Regions from separate parts of the Homo sapiens genome. Here all the other regions are linked to region 1. The links are contacts of gene promoters, found by promoter capture Hi-C in blood cells and fetal thymus (Javierre and others, 2016). All regions are on one chromosome and are shown on one strand. Each heading gives the region's core, a stretch centred on a gene start or on the middle of the fragment in contact. The rest is flanking DNA. Distances are from core to core; before and after follow the strand shown. Region 1 holds the start of AXIN2 (axin 2). Region 2 overlaps CEP112 (centrosomal protein 112). Region 3 overlaps CEP112 (centrosomal protein 112).

Region 1 (4,187 bases), core at 431-2,930:
GGCTAATATTTGTAGTTTTAGTAGGGACAGGGTTTCACTATGTTGGCCAGGCTGGTCTCGAATGCCTGACCTCAGGTGATCCGCCTGCCTTGGCCTCCCGAAGTGCTGGGATTACACGGGTGAGCCACCACACCCAGCCTCTTCCTTCTCTTTTTCTATGGATACCTAGATAGAGCCACAATTCTTGCATGTTTTAAAGTTCTGAAGGCCTAATGACAGGCCATCTCGCATTTAAAAGGGCTCGTCATCCATTAAGTTGGAGAGTAAGAGCCTTGCACAGCTCTGAGGCCAGGACTCTGCCTTTCACTTCTTGGATCTCTTTGGTTCACACCTTTATGTGTGTGTGTGTGTGTGTTTTTTTTTTTTTTTTTTGAGGGAGTCTCGCTTTGTCACCCAGCCTGGCGTGCAGTGGTGCCATCTTGGCTCACTGCAACCCCCCCACCCCCGTCTCCTAGGTTCAAGCGATTCTCCTGCCTCAGCCTCCCGAGTAGCTGGGACTACAGGCACGTGCCACCACACCCGGCTGATTTTTGTATTTTTAGTAGAGACGGGGTTTCGCCATATTAGGCAGGCTGGTCTCGAACTCCTGACCTCAGATGATCCTCCAGCATGGGCCTCCCAAAATGCTGGGATTACAGGCATGAGCCACCGTCCCCGGCCCTTTGTTTTTTAAAAGGAAGAAAAGTTAATTATTCGCTCATAACATAAGGAATCATTCTATAGCAGCAGCAGAATAAATACACAATGCTCTGGGTTTGTGACATATTTTCTCATTTTAACGGAGAAGAGAAGGTTGTGTGTGCCTTATAAACGTTTTTGGGCAAATGTGGGAGAAATTCAAAGGTGACAATGGGGTGAGGAGTTTTCGATACATTAAAACGGCATGCATGCCTTGTCGTTTGGAGTGGGAAAAAAGATATTCCTATCGGTTTAATATGTAACATATGGCAGAAGAGGGGACTTTGGAAGAGTAACGGGTATGCAGTTGTTTGGGAGAGATGGCCAATGTGTGCCGCTACGAGGGTCTTATGGCCAGCAGGTTAGGAAGCTGGACCTAGGTCTTCAGGGCACTGAGGTATGCCTCCTAACTGGTGTTAGCACTCAGGCCTATACTGGCGGATTCACACCCCACTTTCACACATGCACAAACGCAATTCATCCACCAACTGCAGTCCTATATTTACCCGAACTCAGATGCACGTGCACAAGCGCGCACAGGCATGCACACGCCTCCAGCGGCTGGGCCCGAGTCCGCCCTATGACAGCGGGCCAGCCAACCCCAGGGCCGGAACTCCCTTTATAAAGTCCTCCAAGCCCAAATTCCCAGGGAAACTTGAATAGAGGTAGAAAAGCGTTTGATGATAGAAAAAAAAAAATCTGCTTGCTTGCAGTTCTTGCGATGGCCATAATGCTACCAGAAACTGTTGCATTCCAGAGCCGGGGAGAGCGAGGGCAGGCAGGGGGAGGAGGCGGGAGCAAAGAGGCCGGAGAACTTAAAAGAAGAAATCAGAACTCGGGCTGAGAATGCCCTCGGGGCCGCGGGGGGCTGGCAGGGGGCGGAGGAGAGGCCGGGGAAGGGTTAACGCGGGAGCGGAGCGTGCGGCGGGGGCGGGCCGGGGCGGGGCGGGGCGGGCGCGGGGCGCTGTCCCTTTAAGGCGGGCGGCGCGGGCCGGCCGAGCGCGGCTGTGATTGGCGCGGCGGGATCACTGGCTCCGCGAGCCTGGCCCGGGGGAGTCGGCTGGAGCCGGCTGCGCTTTGATAAGGTCCTGGCAACTCAGTAACAGCCCGAGAGCCGGGAAATAAAAATAACCCCTCAGAGCGATGGATTTCGGGGCCGCCCGGCGGCCGAGGCGCCCGCCGAAGGCCCTGCTGTAAAAGGTGGGGGTGGAAGCTCGGCCCCAGCGGAGCCGCTTCAAAGAAAGCCCCCCTCTTACAGGGGGCGAGGTCGCGCCGAGCCGCGGCGTGGGCGCGGGGGGCGGGAGGGGGCCCGGCCAGGCGGAGGCCGGGCCTGGAGGGGGGCGCGGGCGGGGCGGCCCTGCGGAGCGGTGGCGGGGCTGCGGGGGGCGGCCCGGGGCGCGGCCGGCGCGTACCTCCCTTTCAGGACCGTGCGCTCGGCTCGCGCCTTTGAAGTGCACAGTTAAATCCACAGCGCAGTTTTTGTTGGAAGCGCCCGGAGGACATTTGGTGCGCCGAGTGACTGCTGGAAACAGGACCTGCGTTGAAAGCCGGGCCGGGCGGGGGCGGAGGCCCGCTCGGATCTTTTGCATAAAAGGGGCGGCGGGGCGCGCCGTTCCCCCTCCCCGGCCGGTGGCTTTCGCTCTGAACCCGGGATTGTTGTTTCCCGCACCCCCTCCCCCGCCGCACGACTCCCCATGTTCCCCGACGCCGCGGCCGGCCCGGGGGGGCCCGGGGCTGCCGCCGCGAGCCGAGCCGGGGGCCGGGGCCGGGCCCCTGCCAGGGGCGCCTGCGAGGTCTCGCCGCCGAGCGCGCGCGGGGATCAATGGTGAGTGCCGAGGCCGAGGCGGCCGGGCGGACCGCGCGCTTTGATGTGCGGGGCGGCCCTTTGAAGTTGGCAGGCCGGCTATTTCGGGGCGCGCTAGGGGCCGGCGCGGAGGGGAGCGGCGGACCCGGCGCCCAGCGTTCCGGGGGGCTTGGCCGGGCAGCCTTGCGCGCCCTGCGCCGGAGCCCCCTCCCCAGCGCGGTGACCGGGTTGGCGGGGGGCCCAGAGAGGAGACTTATCCGAGTGGCGGCAGTGGCGGGGGCGGAGAGGGGGCAGATACCCCCCGGGGGTCGCGTCGCTGTCGCGGTTATGGATGTGAGTCGGCGTGTGAGTGCGCGCGGGAGTGCCTTTGGGAGGTGGGATGAAAGGGTAGCGGCGCCCCCCGCTTGCCCTCCCCCGCCCCCCGCCTCTCCTCCGCCCCATCCTCTCCTCCTACTTCTCTTCCCCCTCCCCTTTTCCCCTCCCTGCCGCGGGTCCGCGCTAAGGGGCCCACAGCGCTGGCGGAGGCTCAGTCTGCGCGCAGGACCGGCCCAAGTCCGGGGCGCCCGTGTCCCTCGCGTCCCTCCTCCCGGCCCGGGCCCCTCGCCCGTGGCCGCCCCGGCCCCTTTTGCGGAGAGGCAGAGACTCCGCGCGTCGCCATTTCTGGACTAGGCTGCTGCTTTCTGTGCTTTTTCTGCGGGCGCCTCTGCAAACGGCGGCGCCGGGGACCGACCCCCCGCCCGGGCTCGGGGCGCTGCTGGCGTGTCCCGGGGTTCCGGCCTCGAGGTGTGCCCGCCAGGGCTCTGGAGGCGTTCAGTTGCATTTGGGCCGGGGGACCGGGCCGGAGGGGCTCGGAGGACATGAGAGCCTGGCTTCGGCGGCCTTCGTCTTCCAGGTAACGGGGCCGCTCCACCTCCCACCGCCCGGGTAGCGCGGTGCCAACGGCAGCCCCACTTCTCCGTGGGCCGCGCCGCCCAGCCCCGCGGCTCGAGGCTCTGGTCGGGTTCAGCGTGCACCCATCCCAGATCCGGGGTCCCTGGCTTCTCGCCCGGGGTTGCACCCCGTTCAGCCCCTACCCTTCTTAGTTTGATCTTTTCCGTGCTAGGGAAAGCAGCTTGTTTATTGGTTAGATAAGACTTTTTTCTTTGGAAAAAAGACAGGCTTGAAATCAGTAGAGTTTGGGATTCTTGGCACAGGCAGTAGTGGCGTGAGACGGCTGGTGATCCAGTTTTGTAGGTTTCGCGGATCCGGGAGGTGGGTTGGGGGCACGGGGGCGACGGTTCCGAGGCTTCTCAGCTCTCTCTCAAAGTTTGAAGATGAAAGTCTCCCCTGAGTGAGTTGGTTTCTGGTTTGGGGGGAGGTCAGGGAAGACAGAGGTGTTGACTGAGCTGGATTCTTGGTGGGGGTAGGGGGCGCGTAGCGAACACTCAAATCTGAGTTGGGGAGGGGGTGTTTGCGTGCTGAATCTGGGAGTCCGGGAGCCCAATCCGCCTATGCTGGGCGGGCTTCTCTTGGGCCAGGATCTTCTGAATTTTTAAGGAGTGGGAAGAGGGAGCGCAGAGGGAGGGGGTGGGTGGGGAGAATGGGAACCAGATGCCGGGGAAGGGCACGTTTGGAGCTCGAGTTATCTGTGCAGGGCCGAGTGGGGAAATATACCGAAATTGGTTTCACCTGCACACAGCCTAGCGGCTGGGAGTGCGCCTTTTTG
Region 2 (3,987 bases), core at 1,456-3,955, 580 kb before region 1:
TGGTTTTGGTATCAGGGTAATGCTGGCTTTGTAAAATGAATTTGGGAGTATTCCCTCTTCAGTGTTTTGAATGGGTTTGAGGAGGATTGGCATCACTTCTCAAATGTTTGGTAGAATTCACCAGTGAAGTCATCTGGTTCTGGGCTTTTCTTGGTTGGGAGATTTTTAATTACTGATTCAGTTTCCTTACTAGTTATTGGTCTGTTCATATTTTCTATTCTTCATGATTCAATCTTGGTAAGTTTTGCATTTCGAGTAATTTGGTCATCTCATCTGGGTTATCCAATACATTGGCATACTGTTGCTCATAGTACTTTCTTACAGTTCTTTTTATAACTTTTTTTTTTCTCTTGAGATAGATTCTCACTCTGTCACCCGGACTGGAGCACAGTGGTGCAATCACTGCTCACTGCCGCCTTGACATCTTGGGCTGAAGCAATCCTACCTCATCCTCCCAAGTAGCTGGGACCTCAGGTGTGTGCCACCACATCCAGCTAATTTTTATTATTTTTATTTTTTTGTAGAAATGAGGCTCACTATGTTGCTGAGGCTGGTCATGTACTCCTGGGCTCCAGCAGTCCTCCTGCCTCAGCCTCCCAAAGTGTTGGGATTACAGGCATGAGCCACTGCACCCAGTCATTCTTTTTATTTCTGTTAAATTGAGTGTAATGTCTTATCTTTCATTTCTGATTTTAGTTGTTTAGTCTTCTCTCCTTTTTTCTTATTCTGTGTAGCCAAAGGTTTTTCAATTTTGTTGATCATTTCAATAAATCAACTCTTAGTTTCATTTTCTCTGTTGTTTTTCTATTTTCTGTTTTATCCCTGCCCTAATCCTTACTATTAATATTTACTTCCTTCTGCTGGCTTTGAGTTTAGTTTGTTCTTTTTTTAGTTCCTTAAGGTGTGCATCTAGGTTGTTAGAGTTTTTTTTCTTTTTTAATATAAGCTTTTACAGTTGTAAATTTTCCTCTTAGCACTGCTTTCACTGAATCCTACACATTTTGGTATGTTGTGTTTTTGTTTTCATTTGTCTCAAGATGTTTTCTAATTTCCTTTATTTTGCTTTCTTATTTGACTCATTGATTGATGAGAATTTGTTGTTTAATTTTCACACATTTGTGGACTTAATAAGTCATTTTGTTAATTGCTTTCTGACTGTTATATAATTCCTTTGTTCATTTCTTCCTTATATTTCTTTGTGATTTGATGATGTGTTTATTGTTACTGTGGTTTGCTTTGATTCTTTTTTTTTATGTTTTGTGTACTTACTATATTTAAAGAATTTGTGTTACCATAAGGCTTACATAAATCATCTTATAGTTGTAACAACCTATTTTAAGCTGATAACTTCGATTGCATTAAAAAATTCAATACTTTTACTCACACACTTTGTTATTAATGTCCCGATTTTCACCTTTTAATATTCTGTATTCATTAACAAATTATTTTGTGGTATGAAACCATCCAAGTTGTCCCATAAAATGGATGTTTATGGTTTTTTTGAATAAACATAGAAATTAACCCACCCAGTCTTAACACTGGAGAAACTTAACGTTTGTCTTATTTGAGTTCCTGTCTCTGGAAACCAACCATCAGGTATCCCAGATAGTATCAAGGAACTGAAACTTACCAGATCACTGCATCTAGACAATGTTATGCCAGACCCCTCACCTATCATGATTGCCTGACCAACCACCTGCTTCCTGTTGACGAACTCCTCTTCCTTACCAGTCCCTAATTCCTGTTTTCCCACAGGTAGTTACAGTTCTTCCTGCTATATAAACTAATTTTAGTTGGGCGAGGAGATGGATTTGATACTGATCTCCCATCTGCTTGGCTGCAGTGCCCAAATAAAGCCTTCTTCCCTAGCAATACTCATTGTCTCATTGATCTCATTGATTGACTTTCTGTGCGGTGAGCAATGGGACCTAGACTGGACTCCTGGTGTTTCAGTAACTGTTATAGTTATTTTTAAGACTTTCATCTTTTCATTTTTATGTTGAAGTTGAAAATGATTTATGCACCACTATTATATCAATAGAGTAATCTGTATTTTATATATAATTTTATCAGTGAGTTTCATATTTTCATGTGTTTTCATGCTACTAACTAGTGTCCTTTCATTTCAACTTGAAGAACTCCCTTTAGAATTTCTTTTAAGTCAAGTGTAGTGGTGATGAACTCCTTCAACTTTTGTTTATCTGGGACCGTATCTCTCTTTCATTTTTAAAGGACAGATTTGCATGGTATATAATAATATCCTTGACTGGCAGTTTTTCTCTTTCAGTACTTTGCATATATCATCCCATTCTCTCCTGGCCTATAAAGTTTCTGTTGAAAAATCCTTTTACAGTTTTATGAGTCTCCTTTGTATGTAGTGAGTTGCTTTTCTCTTTTTGATTTCAAAATTCTTTGTCTTTGACTTTTGGCAATTTGATTATAATGTGTCCTGGTGTAGATCTCTTTACATTCAACCTACTTGGGATTCTTTGAGCTTCATAAATCTGGATGTCCATTTTTCTCTTCAGATTAGTTCTTTAAATAAGCTTACTGCTTTTCTCTCTCTTCTCTTTCTCTAACTTTAGTAATATGTAAATTGGCCTGCTTGATAGTGTCTCATAAGTTTCTTATGTTTTCTTCAGTCTTTTAAAAACATTTTTGCTCTTGTGGAATGTATAATTTCAAATGTCCTGTCTTTGAGTTTACTGATTCTTTCTTGTACTTGATCAAGGCTGCTGTTGAGCCCCTTTAGTTAAGTTTTTAGTTCAGTTATTGTATTCTTCAGCCCTCAAATTTTTCTTTTTAAAAATATTTTGTTTGTTAAAATACTCATTTTGTTTATGCATAATTTATCCTAAGCTTATTGAATATTTTGATTATGGTTGTTTTTAATTCTTACCAGCTAATCCATTTACCTTCATTTCTTTAGGGTTGGTTTCTGGAGATTTATTTTGTTCCTTTCTTTGGGCCATTTTTCATTTTCCTTGACCCTTTGTGTTAATGTCTGCATATTTGAAAAACAGCCGCTTCTCCCAGTCTTTATGGATTGGCTTTGTACAGGGGCAGACCTTCAAGAATCGGCCTGAGTAGAGATTCTGGGGTCCTCATAAACTTTTTCTGTGGATATGTCTTCTCTGGACTTCTGTGTGTAAATTTCTAAATAGTGGGATTTTCTGGTTTCTGTTTTTAGGAGATCATAATCTCTTGTTCCTTCTTATTCTGTGTCTTGTACCATGGGCCTTCTGGAGCTAGTAGCACACTGGCTCAATCCTTTTTTGGTTATTACTTGCTTTTTTAGTTTCAGCTGCCCCTAGGCACTTAGTTTATGCTGCGTCCCACCAGTGCTTCAAGACAGATGAGACAGAAACAAGTTCCTTGGGCAGTCCCCCAAGAGTCTGAATGTTGGATATATGCTTTAGTTTTCTCTTTCCCTCCCCAGGGAGAAGCTGTGGACCATGAGTTTTTCTAATTGTGCTGAGCCAGGGGTAGGAGCTCTGGCCGTGAGTGTTTACTAGTCCAAACCACCACCTTTGTTCTCAGTGGTCCCCAGGCATTTAGAGAATACCAGTCCTGTGAGTACTTGCAGAATCCGGTCCCTTAGGCAGCCCCTTCCAAAAGCCAGAATGTTGGACAGATGCTTCAGCTTTTTCGTTCCCCAGGGAGAAGTTGGGACTGGGGGTTTCCACCTGCTAGTTCTGAGCTGGTGGGAGGGGCTATGGTCAGTTACTGCATACTAGTCCAAACTGGAGGCTTCGTTCTCAGCAGTTCCCAACCTGGGACCCTTTCCTGTCACAGCTAAGATTCAGGCAAGACAGCAACAAGTCCCTTAAGTAACCTTGCTTATGGCGCAAGAGGATTCCACAAATTTTCCTACTGGCTTCAGTGTGGTTGGTTTCATGCTTGCCTGGAGTACAGGAGCCTCTCATCTGGTCTCTGGATGTCTCACAAAGGAAATTTTGGTCTATGTATTGTTGTTGAATTTATGTG
Region 3 (3,808 bases), core at 475-2,974, 610 kb before region 1:
TTAATTTTTTATTGTTATAAAGAATGCCTGAGTTTACATCCTAGTAATCCATCATCAGGCACCTTATTTAAAAATGCACCCAGGGTTTGTTTTAATCAGACATTATACGATGACAGACATAGAGACAAGTTGCCTTTGAAAGAAGAGTTTATTTCTCACAGTTTCCAAGAGGAGGGAGGCATGCCACACCATGCAGGCCATGTGGAGAAGCACAAGGGTTGGTCAGGAGGCAGAAGTAGCAAGGAGAAGCATGGGTGAGAGCCTTTTTATATAGTGGTGGGATGTTCCCTATTGGACAGAAAGTGAAATACCGATGTTGGGGTTTGTAGTTGGAGGGTTTGTAATATAATTTCCAAGTGCCCACAAAAAGACAGGAATGGTAAGGATGTGGACAACTTTGGCTGTTAGTTTGGTCCATGATTTCAAGATGCCAAATTATCAGTTAGAATATCAAGAAGGATTATTATATGCCTGCATCTGTTTTGGGCTATTATGGACTCCTAGGTGAGAAATTGCTTTGTTGGTGGAGTTATTAGTTGGTTCAACATCTTGTGCAATGGTTAAAAATATATATATATATACACACACACACACATATATACATATATATACACACACATATATACATATATATACACACACACATATATACATATATACACACACATATACATATATACACACACATATATATACATATATATACACACACACACACATATACACATATATATACACACACATATATATAGGTTATTATGGCAAGATCTAATAGGATAAAGTTAAAAAGAAGTACATAAAGTATAGGAAGCTTCCGTTTGTGTTTGTGTATATGTGTTTTAGAGGCTCTGTGGATACATATGTGTTCGTGTGCAGGGAATCTTTCTGGGTACCACACATGAAACTGTTAAAGGTGGTTAGCTTTAGGGATTTGGACTAGTTTGGAGTGTACATTTAAAAACGTTCTTGTAAAAAAAATGTGTCTATGGTATTTCTAATAATCACACTCTTATTTTGATAGATACTGTTCAGTTGCCTTCTGAAATATCATCTTGTTAAAATGTTTGTGCATACACATTGCAAATTAATAAATTTGTATAACAGATATATATACATTTAAACATAAAAATAAAAAATTTTCTAGTAAATAAATGTTTGTGGATTCCACTTGTATTTCTAATTTGTGAAAGCAGAGGCCAAGTGAGGCAAGTCATACCATTTATGGATCTCCTACTGCATGCTAGGTACTGTTCTAGAAATCTTTTCCAAGTCATCAGATTGAATCCTCTCTATAGTCCAGTGAGGCTGACATCATTGCCCTTTTGTATTTATAGACAAGATAACAGCTTCAGGAAAGTCCAGTGACTTTTCCAGTGATGGATCCAATATTGGAATGCAGGGCCTTATGATTTCACACCCATGTTCTTTCTAGTGTATCATATAGGCATAAGTACTTTATGCAGCAAATATGGAAATTTCAGTTTTATCTGTTTTTTTCCACTTGTGCTGCGTCAGCAATCCTGGGCAGCTATACCTTTGTTTTTGGTTATTTCTAGGTTGAGCTGAAAGAAAGCAGTTTGCCTTTGTTCACATTCCACTTCTGACACTTGGCAACCATCTGTCCTCAGGCAAGTTACTTAATTTCTCTAAACCCCAGTTTCATCACTCGTAAATGGAGATAGTGGTAGTACTAACTTCGGGGTTAGTACTACCACTATCTCCATTTGCAAATGGAGTTGTAAGGACAAAGTGAAATAAGACGTGTAGAGCCCTTGACAGAGGGCCTGTTAAGTGTTAGCTGCGGCTACCACCATCATCACTGGTATGGTGATCATTATTGTAATAGTTCATCAGGGCCTTGCTTGTTAGATTGTTTGACCATGCTTTTGCTTCCCTAATTACTAATCCTCCCAAAGGGTATTATCTTAAAGTCTGTTGGTCATTAATTATTTTCAGTTACTAAAAGTCATTTTGTATTCCCTGAGAAAAATAAATTATGACTCTGCAGAAAGGTTATGATTGTAAGTATGAATCCTGCACAATATCAAAATAAAGAATGGTAATTCTATTTTAAAAGAGGCTTTATAGGAATCTTTAAACAATGTAATAGGCCTCTTTTTCAAGGATAGAAGGAACACACAGTGGCTGGCCTCATTGTTTACATTTTTTCACGCCATATATTTGAAGCTGCCTAAGTAACTGTGTGTTTTTTTTTTTTTTTTTTTGAGATGGAGTCTTGCTCTGTCACCCAGGCTGGAGTGCAGTGGCACGATCTCGGCTCACTGCAACCTCTGCCTCCCGGGTTCAAGCGATTCTTCTGCCTCAGCCTCCTGAGTAGCTGGGATTACAGGCGTGTGCCACCACGCCTGGCTAATTTTTTTATTTTTATTTTTAGTAGACACGAGGTTTCATCGTGCTGGCCAGGCTGGTCTCGAACTCCTGACCTCAGGTGATCCCCCTCCCTCGGCCTCCCAAAGTGCTGGGATTACAGGTGTGAGCCACCGTGCTCGGCTGGTAACTAATATTTTGATTTTAGTTCACATCATCTATATATTCTTCATGCTTTATCTCAAAGAACACAAAAGTAATAGGTTGTATTCTTGCTTTACAATTCTGTGAAAAATGTTTTGAAGCTTCTTGTTAATGGCTTGTAGTAATTTTATGTCTTTTCAGTGAAGTATACGTGGTCTGGTAGCTTATCACCAAAGTGCAGTGAGGTTCTGGGATAGGGAAAGATGTAAAAAAATGATTTAATAGCACTTATTATTTTTACTGAAAACTTTGATTAAAAGTTAGGGTAGGGTGAAGAGGAGTAATGTTAAATAAACCCTGACCTTTAAACACTGCTTTACAATGGAAGAAACACGTTGCTTCTGCTTATTTGAGAGGAATTTATTGATGAAAAAGAAGGCATTTAATTAGGTGCCATTTTATTAGGAGCCTACACCAGATTGCTTAGGATTTCTAGGAGAGTGCAAATAATTATTATTAACTACCTACTATTTTTACCATATCAGATTTAGGCTAATTTTATATAAATTATATTTATCTTTTAACTCATGTTGGGTCATCTAAATAATACATGTGTTCATACCTGTAAGAAAGAACTTGGAGAATAATTATCCTATTTTAAATAATTATAGAGGACTATAGTTTTTACATCTTTGCTTTAATGAGATTTTGCCATGGGTTATTTGATGCTAGATTTTAGTTTGGAATGAAGATTCTAATTATGGTCCTGCCCTTATGGAAAATGTGACTTGCTTTATAATGATCCTCTTTATGATATGGTTTTCCAGGAATGCATTGTGGCAAAAAGCTGGGATTCTGTATGTCTTACCCCAATATAGCTAGCATTTCATTTGTGTGTGCAGTTTAATAACATGGCCAGCAGATGGTGATCAAGTATAATGAAAACCCACTTGTGGTTGAAGAAGTTAATCTATGTGAGCAAACATTTTTCACTTTAAAAATATTGATTTAATTTTTTAGTCTGGGCATGCAAAAGAATCTTTTTACTTTGTTAAACTCCACTTTTATATGTAAATGATACTATATAACATTATAAATTGCTCCTCCTGAAATTGTTGGATAATTTAGCAAGGAGCCAATCAATACCTTTCCTTCTTAGTAAAACCTTCTTAAATATTACCTGCCAAAAGTACATTCATTTTATTTGTGAATAACCCTGATGTTTGGGCAGATATGTGTTCTACAGCAGTACTGTTCAATAGAACTTTCTGATGGTAATGTTCTATAGGCGGCACTGTCCAATACAGTCGCCACCAGTAAACGTGACTATTGAACA

Evidence for each region. The method cuts DNA at HindIII sites, captures the fragments that hold promoters and counts their contacts. A CHiCAGO score of 5 or more calls a contact.
Region 2: a fragment that was not itself captured here is called in contact with the fragment with the promoter of AXIN2 in region 1 in 1 of 17 cell types (megakaryocytes); the score reaches 5.1 in megakaryocytes.
Region 3: a fragment that was not itself captured here is called in contact with the fragment with the promoter of AXIN2 in region 1 in 1 of 17 cell types (fetal thymus); the score reaches 6.1 in fetal thymus.

The regions. Positions count from the first base shown.
Region 1 is chr17:65,559,141-65,563,327 of GRCh38, reverse strand. It overlaps AXIN2 (axin 2), which reads left to right and starts at 1,680. Exons shown (of 11, transcript NM_004655.4): 1 at 1,680-1,878. RefSeq lists a silencer at 1,517-1,666. The HindIII fragment of the contact is 19,935 bases long and covers 1-4,187 here.
Region 2 is chr17:66,135,973-66,139,959 of GRCh38, reverse strand. The region is part of intron 4 of CEP112 (centrosomal protein 112); the gene reads left to right. Among named protein-coding and RNA genes, the nearest start is that of CEP112, 54 kb to the left of the region's middle. The HindIII fragment of the contact is 313 bases long and covers 2,549-2,861 here.
Region 3 is chr17:66,165,321-66,169,128 of GRCh38, reverse strand. The region is part of intron 4 of CEP112 (centrosomal protein 112); the gene reads left to right. Among named protein-coding and RNA genes, the nearest start is that of CEP112, 25 kb to the left of the region's middle. The HindIII fragment of the contact is 1,822 bases long and covers 814-2,635 here.